Linked DNA regions of Homo sapiens: all the other regions are linked to region 2. Evidence: promoter capture Hi-C in 16 types of primary human blood cells and fetal thymus (Javierre and others, 2016). All regions are on one chromosome and are shown on one strand. The core of a region is centred on a gene start or on the middle of the fragment in contact, and the rest is flanking DNA. Distances in the headings are between cores, read along the strand shown.

Evidence for each region. The method cuts DNA at HindIII sites, captures the fragments that hold promoters and counts their contacts. A CHiCAGO score of 5 or more calls a contact.
Region 1: a fragment that was not itself captured here is called in contact with the fragment with the promoter of PER2 in region 2 in 1 of 17 cell types (total B cells); the score reaches 6.5 in total B cells.
Region 3: a contact is called between a fragment that was not itself captured here and the fragment with the promoter of PER2 in region 2, in 1 of 17 cell types (neutrophils). The highest score is 5.7, in neutrophils.

What each region holds. Positions count from the first base shown.
Region 1 is chr2:237,600,533-237,604,743 of GRCh38, forward strand. No RefSeq gene overlaps it. Among named protein-coding and RNA genes, the nearest start is that of RAB17-DT, 11 kb to the left of the region's middle. RefSeq lists an enhancer at 3,561-4,064 and a silencer at 3,716-3,896. The HindIII fragment of the contact is 981 bases long and covers 2,119-3,099 here.
Region 2 is chr2:238,286,678-238,290,828 of GRCh38, forward strand. PER2 (period circadian regulator 2) reads right to left here and starts at 1,933. Exons shown (of 23, transcript NM_022817.3): 1 at 1,672-1,933. LOC112268433 (a long non-coding RNA gene) reads left to right here and starts at 1,192. Exons shown (of 3, transcript XR_002959458.2): 1 at 1,192-1,220. RefSeq lists enhancers at 871-1,393, 1,478-2,372, 3,447-3,496 and silencers at 1,921-2,070, 2,411-2,680. The HindIII fragment of the contact is 4,985 bases long and covers 1-4,151 here.
Region 3 is chr2:237,660,159-237,664,546 of GRCh38, forward strand. All of the region lies in intron 1 of LRRFIP1 (LRR binding FLII interacting protein 1), which reads left to right. Among named protein-coding and RNA genes, the nearest start is that of LRRFIP1, 35 kb to the left of the region's middle. RefSeq lists enhancers at 2,525-3,066, 4,053-4,388. The HindIII fragment of the contact is 4,313 bases long and covers 626-4,388 here.

The DNA.
Region 1 (4,211 bases), core at 1,359-3,858, 690 kb before region 2:
CCTCCGGGCGAACAGAACAGATTGCTGACTGTGGGGTAGGTCCCCTTCTGCTCTGAGCTCAGCCTCACCACCTTGGGCAGACAGTAAACACAGTCCCGTGTGGTGTCGGCCGGCTGGAGCTCATCCTACAAAAGGTGGCAGAGATGGCGGTGCTGGTGGCTCCGTTTAACCCCAGCATGAGCAGAGGTGGGAAAATCTATGGCCCACGGGCAGGCCTGGGGACTCCAAGCAGGTGGAACAATAACATGAACTTGCCAAGATTGGCCAGGGCACAGCATCTCCACTAGGTCATCTCACAGATGCCCCAAATTCAGTGTGCTCCAAACAACACCCTGGTTCTTCCCGGCCAAATGTGTTTATCCCCTAAGCTCCCTCCTTCCAGGAAAGAGAACTGTCCAGTGAGTTAGGCCAGAAAACCTGGAGTCATCTTAGTCTACAATCCTTGCATCCAACCCATTATCCAGTCCTCCCAATTGTACCTCTGAAAGATTTCTCGAAACCGTCTTTTTCTCTCCATCTCCTCTACCACCAGCATTTAGAAGGGAGTCACATTGCCAATGGCCTCCCGCTGGCTTCAGTTCACGACCGGTTCCGGCCCCAGGAAAGAGTTTGGAAATAAAAGAAGGTAAAAACATGTTTTGCAGGAATTGTTCTTTGCTCTGCCTCTTCCTCCCCCAATCCAGCCAAGCTTTGTGCTTGTCTTTTATCCCTTGAAGACTATCCCCCAGCCATCCTCTCACCCTGCACAGAGGTCACCAGGTCTATGGTAAAGAGCCAGGAAAGAGGTCGGGCAGTCCTGGGTTCAAACCCAAGGTCCAGTGCTGACTGGCAGTGAGTGTGGTCATGTAAGCTCATCTCTAAACCTCAGTCTCCCCCTTTCAGAGAGGAAATAATATTCCTTGGTTTTTAAGGTTATCGTGGAGGCTAGAGCCTGGCACGTGACAGGTGAGTGTGTGATAAACTGTGTTCCTTACCTTTGCAGTCACTGTCAATCGTCATCGTTTAATGAGTGAGCATTTCAGAGGCCCTTCAGTCTGCACGGGACTCTGTGGTTGCTGGAGCCCTGGACCTGGGGCTCACCTTCCCCGACTGACTGAGGCCCGACTACCGTCCTCTAATCTGGGTTGCTATTTCCTGCCCTTCTGGACTCTGGACATAACTTCCTTTGCCTAATACATAGAGCAGTCCTGTTCCTCCTAGCCTTGGCAGCTATCACTGGCCACCTATCTTAACCAGCTTGGCTTTGGCCAGCTACCCCCAGGATCCCTCCTCTGGGCGACTCCCCAAGCTGCTCAAGTCCTGCCTGGCCCAAGACTTGGTAGCCCTACACTCAGCTGACGTGCTGCCACTCTCCACTGCCCCCTGACTAGCATGAAAGCCACTGCGGAACCTGCAACATTCAAGCTATCAAAGGGGTCACATTCCAAAGCACTGCTTTGTCTCTCCACTGAGGTGATAAGCTGCAGGACTTAACTGGAGGTGAGGTGCACGGGGGTGGGAGCCGCAGACCAGGCCCTGCAGTTTACATGGGCAAGTCCTTCACGGCCCCTCGGGGCCTCCATTGATGGATTCCTCCAGGACCACACTGATGGTCCCTTCCAATCCTGCTGGTCGCCTAAGTGCAGAGCATGCTCCCCAGACAAGGGTTCTCTTCTCCTTTCCTTCAAGAACAGGACCTGCGTCTTGAGGTCTTCTGTCTTTCTCAAGATATCTAAATAGTAGCTGATGAACCACATCACATTTGTTGACTTAAAATCAAGGAATATGGAAAGGTATCATTTATTAAGTGCTTATTACACTCCCTGCCCAGTGTTTATGTAAATTATAAAATGACCAACTCTGATGTTCATATATATATATATGTATATATTTTTTCATCCACAGTTTCTGGCTCATAGCTCCACTTAGCCCTTGTTACAGTTTTCTGTTATAATGTTGGATGTGCTAATCCTGGGCGCCACCCTCAGGTAACAGAACCTCTCTGACCCTCTCGCCTTCCTTTTTCCTGCCACAAGGCAGGACTCTAACCTTCCCTCACTTTTCTGACTGTAGGTCTTAACAGCCTCCCCTGGGAGGGTCCCGCCTCATACCATGCGGGAAGGAATTCTGTCAACATGAAGCTTCCATAAAAACCCAAGAGGACTGGGTTCAGGGAGCCGTGGAGAGCTGACTTTGTGGAGGTTCCCAGAGGATGATGTGTCCAGGGAGGGCTTGGAAGCTCCCTGCCCCTTCCCCCATACTTCGCACTACGCATCTCTTCATCTGTGTCCTTTGTAACATCCTTTACAATAAGCCAGCAAACATAGTTATTTCCCTGAGTTCAGTGAGCTGCTCCAGCAAATTGATCAACACAGAGAGGAGGTCATGGGAACCCCAACTTGAAGCCCATCCGTCAGAAGTTCGAGAGGCCCAGGCTTATGACTGGTGTCTGGGGTGGGTGGCAGTCGTGGGGACTGAGCCCCCCACCCAGTGGGATCTGGTGCTATCTCCAGGTGGACAGTGTTAGAATTGAACACCCAGCTGGGGCCCACTGCTTAATGTGTGGGGAAACCCCCACGCCTTTTATTGCAGACGTCTTCTGTGTTGATGATTGTGGAGGTGGTGGTGGAGTGAAAGAGGAAAAACGCAGTTTGAGAGAGTTTTTCCATACACACCAACAAACCAGGGAGGTGGATATTGTTATCCCCATTTTACGGATGAGAAAATTGAGGCTCAGAGAGATTAAGTACATTCCCCAGAGTTACGTAGCTATCGAACAAGGATTCAAATCCACAACTTTCTTAACCTACCCCACAGAGGCAAATGCAAAAACCAAACCATAAGAGGGAGGAAATAATGACCTCTGCAAATGAAAGCCACCTGTATATCAAGAAAAGCATATGGATAAAACAAAATGCTGGGACAATAACTGCCACAAACATGTGGCTTTAAAATCCTTGATTTATAAATCAGCAAAAAATGGACAAAGGCACAGCCAGACAATTCGCTGAAAGTGAGTCCCAGGTGTGCAGGCAGCGCTAGCAGGAGCGTTCGGCCTCACCAGCACGTGCAGGAGCCGGTCAGCATGGAGGTCAGATTGGCAAAGCCTCATCACATCCAAGCTTTGGCAAAACAGTAGAGACTGTCCACCAACCGTTGCTGAGACTGTCTGGCAGTGCAGTTTTCTGAGAGGGCAAACCTGGGATGCGTAGCAATGAATTCAACAACACAGCCTTTGACTCGGCAACTGCACGTCAAGAAACGGAACTGTCAGGAAGCATCTAGAACCCAGAGGGCAGAATCCAGGAAATGACTCTGTTCCGGAGTTCATCTGTTGCTCTGGGCTACACTTGATGCTACGGTAAAATCACTCACCCTCACATCCAGCCAGCGGCAACACACACAATGAAAACCGTTCTGAAAAAGCAAAGCTGAGAGCCCCGGGAAGATGCAGGAGGTGTGGGTGGGGGTTGGAATTCAGCTCGGTTTAGATAAACAACTGAGACCCGAGATGTTGATCTCTAAGGATTATCTCAGCCCCGACCTATTTCAACTTCCTTGTCTTCTTTCTTTGGCTCCTTACTTTTCATTGAAATTCCCTGACTGGCCCACTAAGAACCAGGCTCTGGCCAGCACGGTGGCTCACTCTGTAAGCCCAGCACTTTGGGAGCCTGAGGCGAGAGGATGGCTTGAGGCCAGGGGCTCGAGACCAGCCTGGGCAACATAGTGAGATCCCCCCAATCAATTTTTTTTTTTTTTTAAAAACACCCTTTTTTTTTTTTAATTAGCTGCCAGCTACTTGGCAGGCTAAGGGAGGAGGATCCTTTAAGCCCAGGAGTTCAAAGTTGCAGTGAGCTATGATCGTGCCACTGCACTCCAGCCTGGGCAACAGAGCAAGACTCTGTCTATAAAATATATGTATATATATTATAGAAATTTTTAAAAGAACCAAGCTCTGGAATGGACTTGCTCCAGCACCTGGCCCATCCCAAGCCTGGAGGCTCACTGGAGGAGGCCACATGGGGTCCACTCCATGTGCAGCAAGCACACCGAGGCCACAGGCTGCTGGGCCCACCTCCCCACCTCCCCACCGTGGGCGAAGTACGTGGAGGATGTGAGGGAGGTTCTCAAGTGAGATGCTCACTCACAGTTATCCCCAAAGGACGGTCCAAACATGTGGAAAACATGTCTCCCGTAGAAAATGGAGAAACGGCCGGGTGTGGTGGCTCACG
Region 2 (4,151 bases), core at 683-3,182:
AAGCACACCCAGAGCCTGTCTTTCTTCTGACTAAACGCCAAGTGGCCCTGCCAGCTGTTCAATGACCTGACAGAGCCGTGGTTTGCCGAGTCCTGGTGAAGTTACATCATCGCTTAAAAACAGCAGTGTGACTACCAGTATTTTTGAGAAAGTTCAGTGGGTACGAGAAGTAGTGCACAGGAGAGGAATCTTTCCTTTTTCCTTGTAAGCACTGCAGACGTGGCTCACAGGAGAACATTACTTGGCCCAAAGGCAAGAGCATATCAGAAGCCTCTGTCTCCTGCGAGAAACCTGGGAAAAATCATCTGTAGGGTAACAGAAAACCAAAAACCTGGGAATTAAAGTAGACCTCTGAGACTGCCCAATCTGAGCCCCTCCAAACAAACAAGGAAACTGAGGCCCAGACTGGGAGCCAGCAGCAGCCAGCTGGCTGACACAGGGCTCCCCCTTCCCACCTGGCACTCCAGTCTCCACAGAAAGCCAGGGCTGCGTTAGTTCTGTACCAATGAATCATACCAAGGCGACAGTGACAGATAACTGCAAACACCCACGGTGCCATCCCCGCGCTGGCACACCACACAGCTTCCACTCAAAAAAAACGGAGTCCCTTTCTTCATTATAGTCATATAGCACACAAAAATCAATTCACCTTGTATTTTAAAACTCAATTTCCAAATAAAGCCTTCAGGTAGAGTCCTGTTTTCTTCTCAGGCACACCCAGCCTGGGACCAGAAGCCCCAGGTGGGGGTAGAGGGTGGGCCAAGAAGTCTAGCAGTCCTGCTGTGCCATATACAGGTGAGAGGCGTCCATGTGGGGCTTTAGCCACCGTGTGGGGTTCTTAACACATTTCCCGGACTTAAGGCCCTTCCTCCCAAATTCCAGCCCACCCAGGATTCAGCACGCAAGTGGAGGCCATCACTGAACCTCTGAAGCTCATCCTGCCCCAGGACGATGGGAAGATCCTGCAGACAGCCTGGGCCTGGGCCTCAGTTTGCTCATCTGTCAGGCTGAGGGGTTACTCTGGGTGATTTTCAGGGTGCCTTCTGGCTCTGTTGTTCTGTATGAATCAGCTTTCCAAACGGGTTCCTTCTGTGTAGGTTACAGAAACCCTGGCAACCAACTCGTCATCCCTTACCCTGGCCTTCCTGAAGGGGGAAGCAGGCCACCTCCCACCCCCTGGTCTATGTCTGGGACTTGGCAGCCAAAGTACATCCCAGAAGGTAGGCGCGACTGCTGCACCAAAGAGTGGACACCCCCATTCCCTTCTATCCAGTCCGGGGAAAGGGAATTAATACAGGGTGGTCCAGGGGAGGCAAAGGGGCGAACATTAGAGGGTCTCCCCGCCCTCAGGTTCCCAGGCCTGGCTTGGCACCGGGACTTCCTTGTCCCTCTGATCACCCATTCCAGGAGACCCGTGGGTGTCCAGGAAAAGCTCCTAGATCAGCGCCCCTCCATGGCCCTTCCCCAGCCCAGGACTTAGCCCTGTGGCCTCAGAAGAGGCAGTCAGCTCCCCGAGGGTCCTCCAGATCCCAGGGCCGGCTGCGCTGACCCTTGGTTTCCTTGGCCTTCCCCATGCGAGGGGAGGGAGGGTTCCCAAAAGAGAATCGCCCACGGAACCGCAGCCCGCGCGCAGTCACTCGGTAGCTCGGTGCCCTACACACGCTGCCTCACCTTTCGGACCTCAGGCTCCTGAGCTGCGAAGCGGGGGTTCGAGTCCCCAACCCTCGGTGTCACCGCAGTTCAAACGAGCGCACCCTGCGCGCGGCTCGACCACTCTCCACCTGGGACAGGGCCAAGGGCACACGCCCCCACGCCGGCGCCGTTTCAAGCCGAGGAGTCCAGCAGCCCAAGGAACTTCCGGCGGCGCCTCCGCTGCCCGAGCCGGCGCTGGGACCCCGACCTGCCCGAGGCCCGCGCGCCGGCGGCGGTTACGTAAGCCGCAGCGGGGCCGCGCCGCGCCACTTACCGCCGGCCGCGCCCGCGTCAGCCCGTCCGCCGGTCCCTCCGCCGACTCGCGGCTCTGTCCGCCCGGCCCCGCGCCCGCCGCCGCCGCCCACAGCTGCACGTATCCCCTCAGCGCCGCCGCCTCCGCCGCGGCCGAGTCGCCGCTGTCACATAGTGGAAAACGTGACCGCGCGCGCCGCGCCCGCCCCCGGCCTCCGCCATTGGCCGCGACTCCGTCTCATCTGCATACATGAGGGGCGGGGCCTACGAACGCCGCGCGCCCATTGGTGGCCGCGCCCGTCGCTCTTTTTACATAAGACGCACATGGAACTCCATGTTCACCTCGTCGGTTCCTCAATGGAGACGCGGCGCGTTCGTGCTACCCGTCGTCCTCCCTAGTGGTCTCATCCACTTCCGGCGTCGGCGCCTTCCATTCACTACGCCCTCAAGCCCGCCAGCTCGGGGAGCGCGGAGTGGCGCGTACCATTGCGGGCGGGGGAGCTGGGCGCGGGGCTCCTGCGCACCTCCGGCCGGCCTGGCAGACCCGGCGCGCCGAAGCCGGACGAGGGAGACCTCCACCTCCGGCCACCGGCCAGAGGCGCGCCCCCAGCGGCCAGGGCCGCGGGAAAGTCCGCGCGGCATGCTTCATTCACGCATTCACATTCATTCATTTACTCATTCACTCACTCATTCATCGCGGGGCCCCGGAGCAGCCCAGGAGAAGGTGGCAGCACCGCCCTGCAGCAGCTCCGGGGGCACGCCCACCCGGGCCTCTGAGGTGCCTGTGGTCGACACTTGTCCCGGCAGCTACCAAGTGACCTTTCTTATTTTTGAGACCACGTGTTGCAATTTTTGGTTCAGGAAATAGAGTCATTGTTACTCTGGGGAGGTACAAAAGAAAGAAATGATGTTGTCCCTGCCCCCAAGCGCATCACTAGGGAGAAAGGACTATCTCATAAAAAGGAAACTTAATCAAATGCTAAATTGGGCGATGTGGGCTATAAATTAACCAGAGCTATCCCCACAGGCTCCGTGAGAAAGGCAGCACTTCCAAGGCGGGTAAGATGGGCCCTGAGAAAGGGACGCCTTACAACGGTGCAAGCCGTAGAGACGCAGGAGCCAGGGGTAGGAGGTTGTCCTGGGAGACAGCGCGGGACCCTGCATCACCTTGTTTCGGTAAGCATTGTGTGGGGCATGTGGAGCCTCTAAACTTCCATTTAAAGTGTCAGGAGAAAGAGTACAATTTCCCCGGGTCTGGGTAGAAGCCTGAGACTTACAGGACAGGAAGGAGCTTTCAGGCTCCCACGCAGCAGGCTCTGAATGTGTAGGCTCTCATGGGGAAGGCGAGACTGTCCAAGAAGCTGGAGCCCGCAGCATCTCTCTTTACTCTTCTTGTTCTTCTTTACCTGGACTCACCTGGGGACCAGGGATGGGACAGAAGGAAAAGTTATGAACCCACATCAGGAATTCCTGAGTGTGATAACTCCTTCTCTTCTACTTGACAAGGTGTGTGTGCAACTTCTCAGATGCAAACCAGGGCAAATACCAAGTTCATCGGGGCAGCCCTTCCCACAGAAGCCCCGGGAGGCCTGCATGCTGTTCACACACTCAGTCAGGTGGCCCCTCCTCCTGTTCCTCTGACATTGACACCTCGACACACTCCCCGCCCCCTCTCCCTAACACATACACACACAAATGCCAAGCAAACCCAGGCCCGGCTGCTGCGCCCTGCACACACCCAAAGGCTCTTTTGTTTCTTCCCTCCCATTGACGTCAATGGGGAGCTCCATTGTTCTGGAAACAAGAGTAAACAGACAGCTCATCCACACCTTACCGAGATTCTTCTTCATGCTTTTGCTGGGTCTTGCTCCATATTCAGCCTGCTACCTGATGTCACATTTCCTCCCTAAATGTAGCCTTTTTTATTTCCACCAATAAATCTGGTAGAAATATATTGAAATCAATTCTTTTAGAAATTATCAAGTGCTTTGGGCTCTAGGACTCTTCAGAATCTCATCTATTTTCAGTGATTCACAGCCAGTTTCTTCTTTCCTATTATTGGAAATTTGTGTACACTCCACAAATACTTGTTGACACCTGAGTGTTGAGGGGCATGCAAAAATACATCTCACTGCATCCCTGCTTGTAAGGAGTTGGTGATGTAGAAGGGGGGAGGAGGCAGATTCAGAGGCAATTTTGTCTAAGTT
Region 3 (4,388 bases), core at 1,532-4,031, 630 kb before region 2:
AAGAAGGCCAATGATACGCGAGAAGGCAAAAGAAATAAAATAGTTTGTTAAAAACAAAAGGAACTACACATGGCTCTAAAACAGAAAGAAGTCCAAACTTCACACATATTAGAAGTATTCATTAAAACTACTCTAGGTTACCATCTGCCCACCCCACGCCCCAGCACACTAGCAGGGATTAGGAGATGGCTTGGCAACTCACTGCGTAGTGTAGATATGGGGACATAGGGACCCCTGTGCTGATGAGAGAGTCCACAGCAGCTATCTCCACAGAGTACAGCTGGCCAGTGTAGGTTTGGGGACATAGGGACCCCCACAGTGCTGATGAGAGAGTCCACAGCAGCTATCTCTGCAGAGTACAGCTGGCCAGCATCTGTCCACTTCAAAAGGCACATGCTGTTTAACCCGGAAGTTCTACCTCTGGGAATTTATCTTGCACCTCTACTCCCATGATATGAAATTCCAAGTCATTTGCTGCAGTCTTGCTTGTAGCAGAAAAATGTGGAAACAAACAAATTTGTCTGCCATAAAGGACTGGTCAAACCTGTTGCCATCCATACAAGGAGTGCCACGAGCTCCTGTGCACCTGTGGAAGGAGCTCTGAGCTAGATTGTTTAGCAAGAAAAGCTTCAACACACAAGTTCAGTGAAAAAAGCAAGGGCAGAACAGCGCACGGTGCTACATGTCTGTGGCAGAAAAAGGGAGAAAAGCATGCGTTTTTGAGTTTATATATTCCATCACCTTCAATATACAGCGTCGGGACACCTGACCACCTGCAGGACCCACTGTCATCCTGGGAGAGGGAGGAGGAAGCTCTCGGATCTCCTCTTGTGAAAGAGGCGAGATTATTGCTCAGCCTGGCTCCAGAGGCACGCAGTCCCTGTGCCCCGAGAAACTAACATGCCATCTCTGCTCTCCCACCGCTTCCTGGGTTGGGCTGCGGGGAGAGGCCTTGCTACAGTGGGTGCCTCATCAGCACTGTGAACAAACAGGGAAGGATATCTGGGGCCACGCAGGGAGACCCTGGGGGATCCTGGGCAGAAGCCCCTGAAGTGATTGAGCTGTTTCCTGGGCCCTCTGATGATTCTCCCTCTGCCTTGGAGGCTTGGCTTCCCCTGGCTGCTGCTAATTCTGGAGGACACAGTGGGGTGGGCCACATAATGGAGGCTGGACTGTGTGTCCAGTCCACCCAGATGCCACCATGCCTGCCAGTCCCTCTCCTCCTTAGAGCACAAGCCCTCTGATGCTCCCAGACAGTGGAAACTTTTTGTTCCCCAAAGCCCTCCAGCTGGCCGGGCTGCCCTCCCCAGACTCCCTCCTTCCTTCCAGATGTGAGCAAATCCCTTTCCTTCCACCTCGCTCTCGGCCCCTGGTTCACCTTCTGTTCCTGCCCAGGGCAAACTGCCCTATGTGCATCTCTGTCCTCATCCATGAAACCATCCTTGTCCTCACTGTCGATGGAATTTTTCAGTGATACCTAACATCTGTCCCAGAGCCATGCACGTTCCGAAAGCACATTCCAGGGGGACAGTTGTGTCCCTGGTGCAACACGGGAGTGGGCACACATTCTCTGTGCTGTGCATGGGGACAGCTCCAGGAAGAGAGAGGGCACTGTTTTCCTGTTTCCTGAGTCAATCCGCTGTAGTTCTGTGGCCCAGCTGAGTGGCATAGGCTCTCCTGACCCAGGTACCTATCAGCCCCCAAAATAGGTGTTGCCATGATTCCTTTGGACAAAATGTAAAATCTGGCTGAAGACTGAGTCCTCGTGCACCTAGCGTGACCCATGACAGCATGCAGGTGTTGGTCTGTAGGGATGCCATAACAAAGTGCCACAAACTGGGTGACTTAAAATAACAGAACTGTATTCTCTCACAGTTCCGGAGACCGGAAGTCCAAAGTCGAGGTATTGGGCCAGGTGGGTTCCTTCTGGAGGCTCTGAGGGGAAGGTGTTCCAGGCGTCTCTCCAGCTTCTGGTGCTGCTGGCAGCCCTCGGCCCTCTGGCTTGTAGACACATCACACCAGGCTCTGCCTCCGTCTCCACGTGGCCCCCTCCCTGGGTATTTGTGTCTCTGTGTGCAAATTTCTGTTTCCTTATAAGAAAGTCATTGAATGAGGGCCCACCCTAATCTAGTACGACCTCATCTTAACTTGATTGTACACGCAAAAAGCCTATGTCCAAATAAGGCCCCATCCACGGGTTCTGGGTGGACATGAACTTTTGGGGGATGTTACTGAACGCAGTGCAGGGTTCTTACATTCTCACCATCACGTATATGATTTTATTCTTCAGGGTGCTAAGGTGTGGTGTGTGCCATGTGCTCTTAACCCCTTAGAAAAGATAAGGACAATTTTTTTTTCAGGTCCAATGTCTGAATGTATTTTTTTTCTTTCTCTTAGGATTTGAAGATATATAACAATATGTCATAAACTGACCTGAAATCCTTGTTTGTTCCGCAGCGAAATCCATTAATAATCCCTATAACTGGGACAGTTTTATGTTCCCATTCTCGGTGTGGCTATTTATAGTGAAACCTCACTTTCCCTGTGTTGGTTAACATTAAAAACTGGAACTGCTTCTGAGGTAGGAGGCGGGACTTGACTCCAGAGGCGGGGCTTGGACACTGGGCCAGATTGAGGACTAGCTAAAACAGGCCCGGTGGGGAAAGCAGTCTTCAATCAGACACGCCCACCAGCGCTATGTCAATTTACCGTTGCCATGACGGCACCCAGGCATTACCGCTCCTTTCCACGGCAATGACCCAGTGATTACTACCTCTTCCTTGCATAAACCGCTCCTTAATCTGCATGCAATTACAAGTGAGTATAAACAGGACTGCAAAACTGCCCTGAGGTGCTGCTCTCTGCCTGCGGGGTAGCCCTGCCCTGCGGGAGCCGGCAGGGAGCTGGAACACTGACACTTCAGTAAAGCTGTTTTCTTCTACCTATGACTTGCCCTTGAATTCTTTCCTGAGCAAGGCCAAGAACCCAGATGGGCTAAGCTCCACTTTAGGGCTCGCCTGCCCTGCATCAGTTTAACTAAACTATTAGAATTTTTAGTTTAAAAGAAATGAGTAAGATTGTGAGCATTCTGTGAGATGCGGAGTGAAAGAAGGTGCTGTAGTCTGAACGTTTGTGTCTCCCCTAAATTCATGTATAGAAATCCTAACCACCAAGCTGACTGTATTAGGAGGTGGGAGCTTTTAGGAGGTGATTAGGGCATGAGAGTAAATGAGATTAGTGCCCTTATAAAACAAACCCGGGGAGTTCTTTCCCCCCCCATCCCGCCATGTGAGGACACAATGGGAAGGGGGCCCTCACCCCTTCTATGAACAAGAAAGGGGGCCCTCCCCAGACACTGAATCTGCTGGCACCTTGATCTTGGGCTTCACAGCCTCTGGAACTGGGGGAAGTTAATTTCTGTTGTTTATAAGCCACCTAGTCTATGCCCTTCTGCTACAGCAGCCTAAACAGCTCAGCCTTAATGGACGAGGCACATGGAATGACTTCCGGGCCTCTGACAGGGTGCTTGGGGAGGATGGTGTGATGTTGCGTTATCACTCACAGACACTGTGGAACTGACTGGGTTGGTGGAGCGGGGACCCGGGGAAGAGTTCAGTTCTGTTCTGGGAATGTTGCCTTGAGGCAGCTGAGCACTACCCACAGGGAAAGGTCTGGCAAAGGTTCACGTGCATTCGCCTGGGCCATAGGGGAGAGGGGAGCCGTCAGCGGTCAGGGTGGTCAAAGCCACATAGTTGCATGAGGTCTCCTAAGTAGGTCAGTGGAGCAGAGTACCCAGGGTGGAGCCCCGGGAACCTCAGAAACAAGGAAGGGGTGAGCAGAGGAAGGGTCGCCCTCAGGGCACTGGGAGGGAGGAGCAGGGTGAAGGGTGGGGGCAGAGGGGAAACAGCCATGTCCATGCTGCAGAGAGACCCAAGGGAGACCCGGGGAAGAATGTCACTTGCACCTTGCAAAAGGGAGGGTCCTGGCGGCCTCAGCCAGAGCCGTTTTAGTGAAGTCATGGGGAGAAGGACCACAGAGGCTTAGTCCTGGCTGGGGCCGCAGTGGGACTGGCAGTGGAGAGGAGGGGGCCCAAGCCAGGGAGATTGAGTTCTTGGCAAAGAGGCCGGCGGCGTTCTCCACTGCGTTTCCATCCGCAGGTGCGCCTGCCGCCTGGCCTGTCCACAGTGTGCTGGTTGCTGGTATTCAGTTCTGGATTGTACCTCTGACTGGACTGAGGTCCATCAGCAAATGACGGGGCCTCGGCGGTGTGGCAGTGTGTTCAGCTGCTGGCATGCCGCCTCGGGAACAGAAAAGTCACGTTGTTGTGTATGCGGGTAACAGCTCCAGGGAGGCGTGAAGAGAACTTCCTGGCAAGGAGTGCTGCTCCA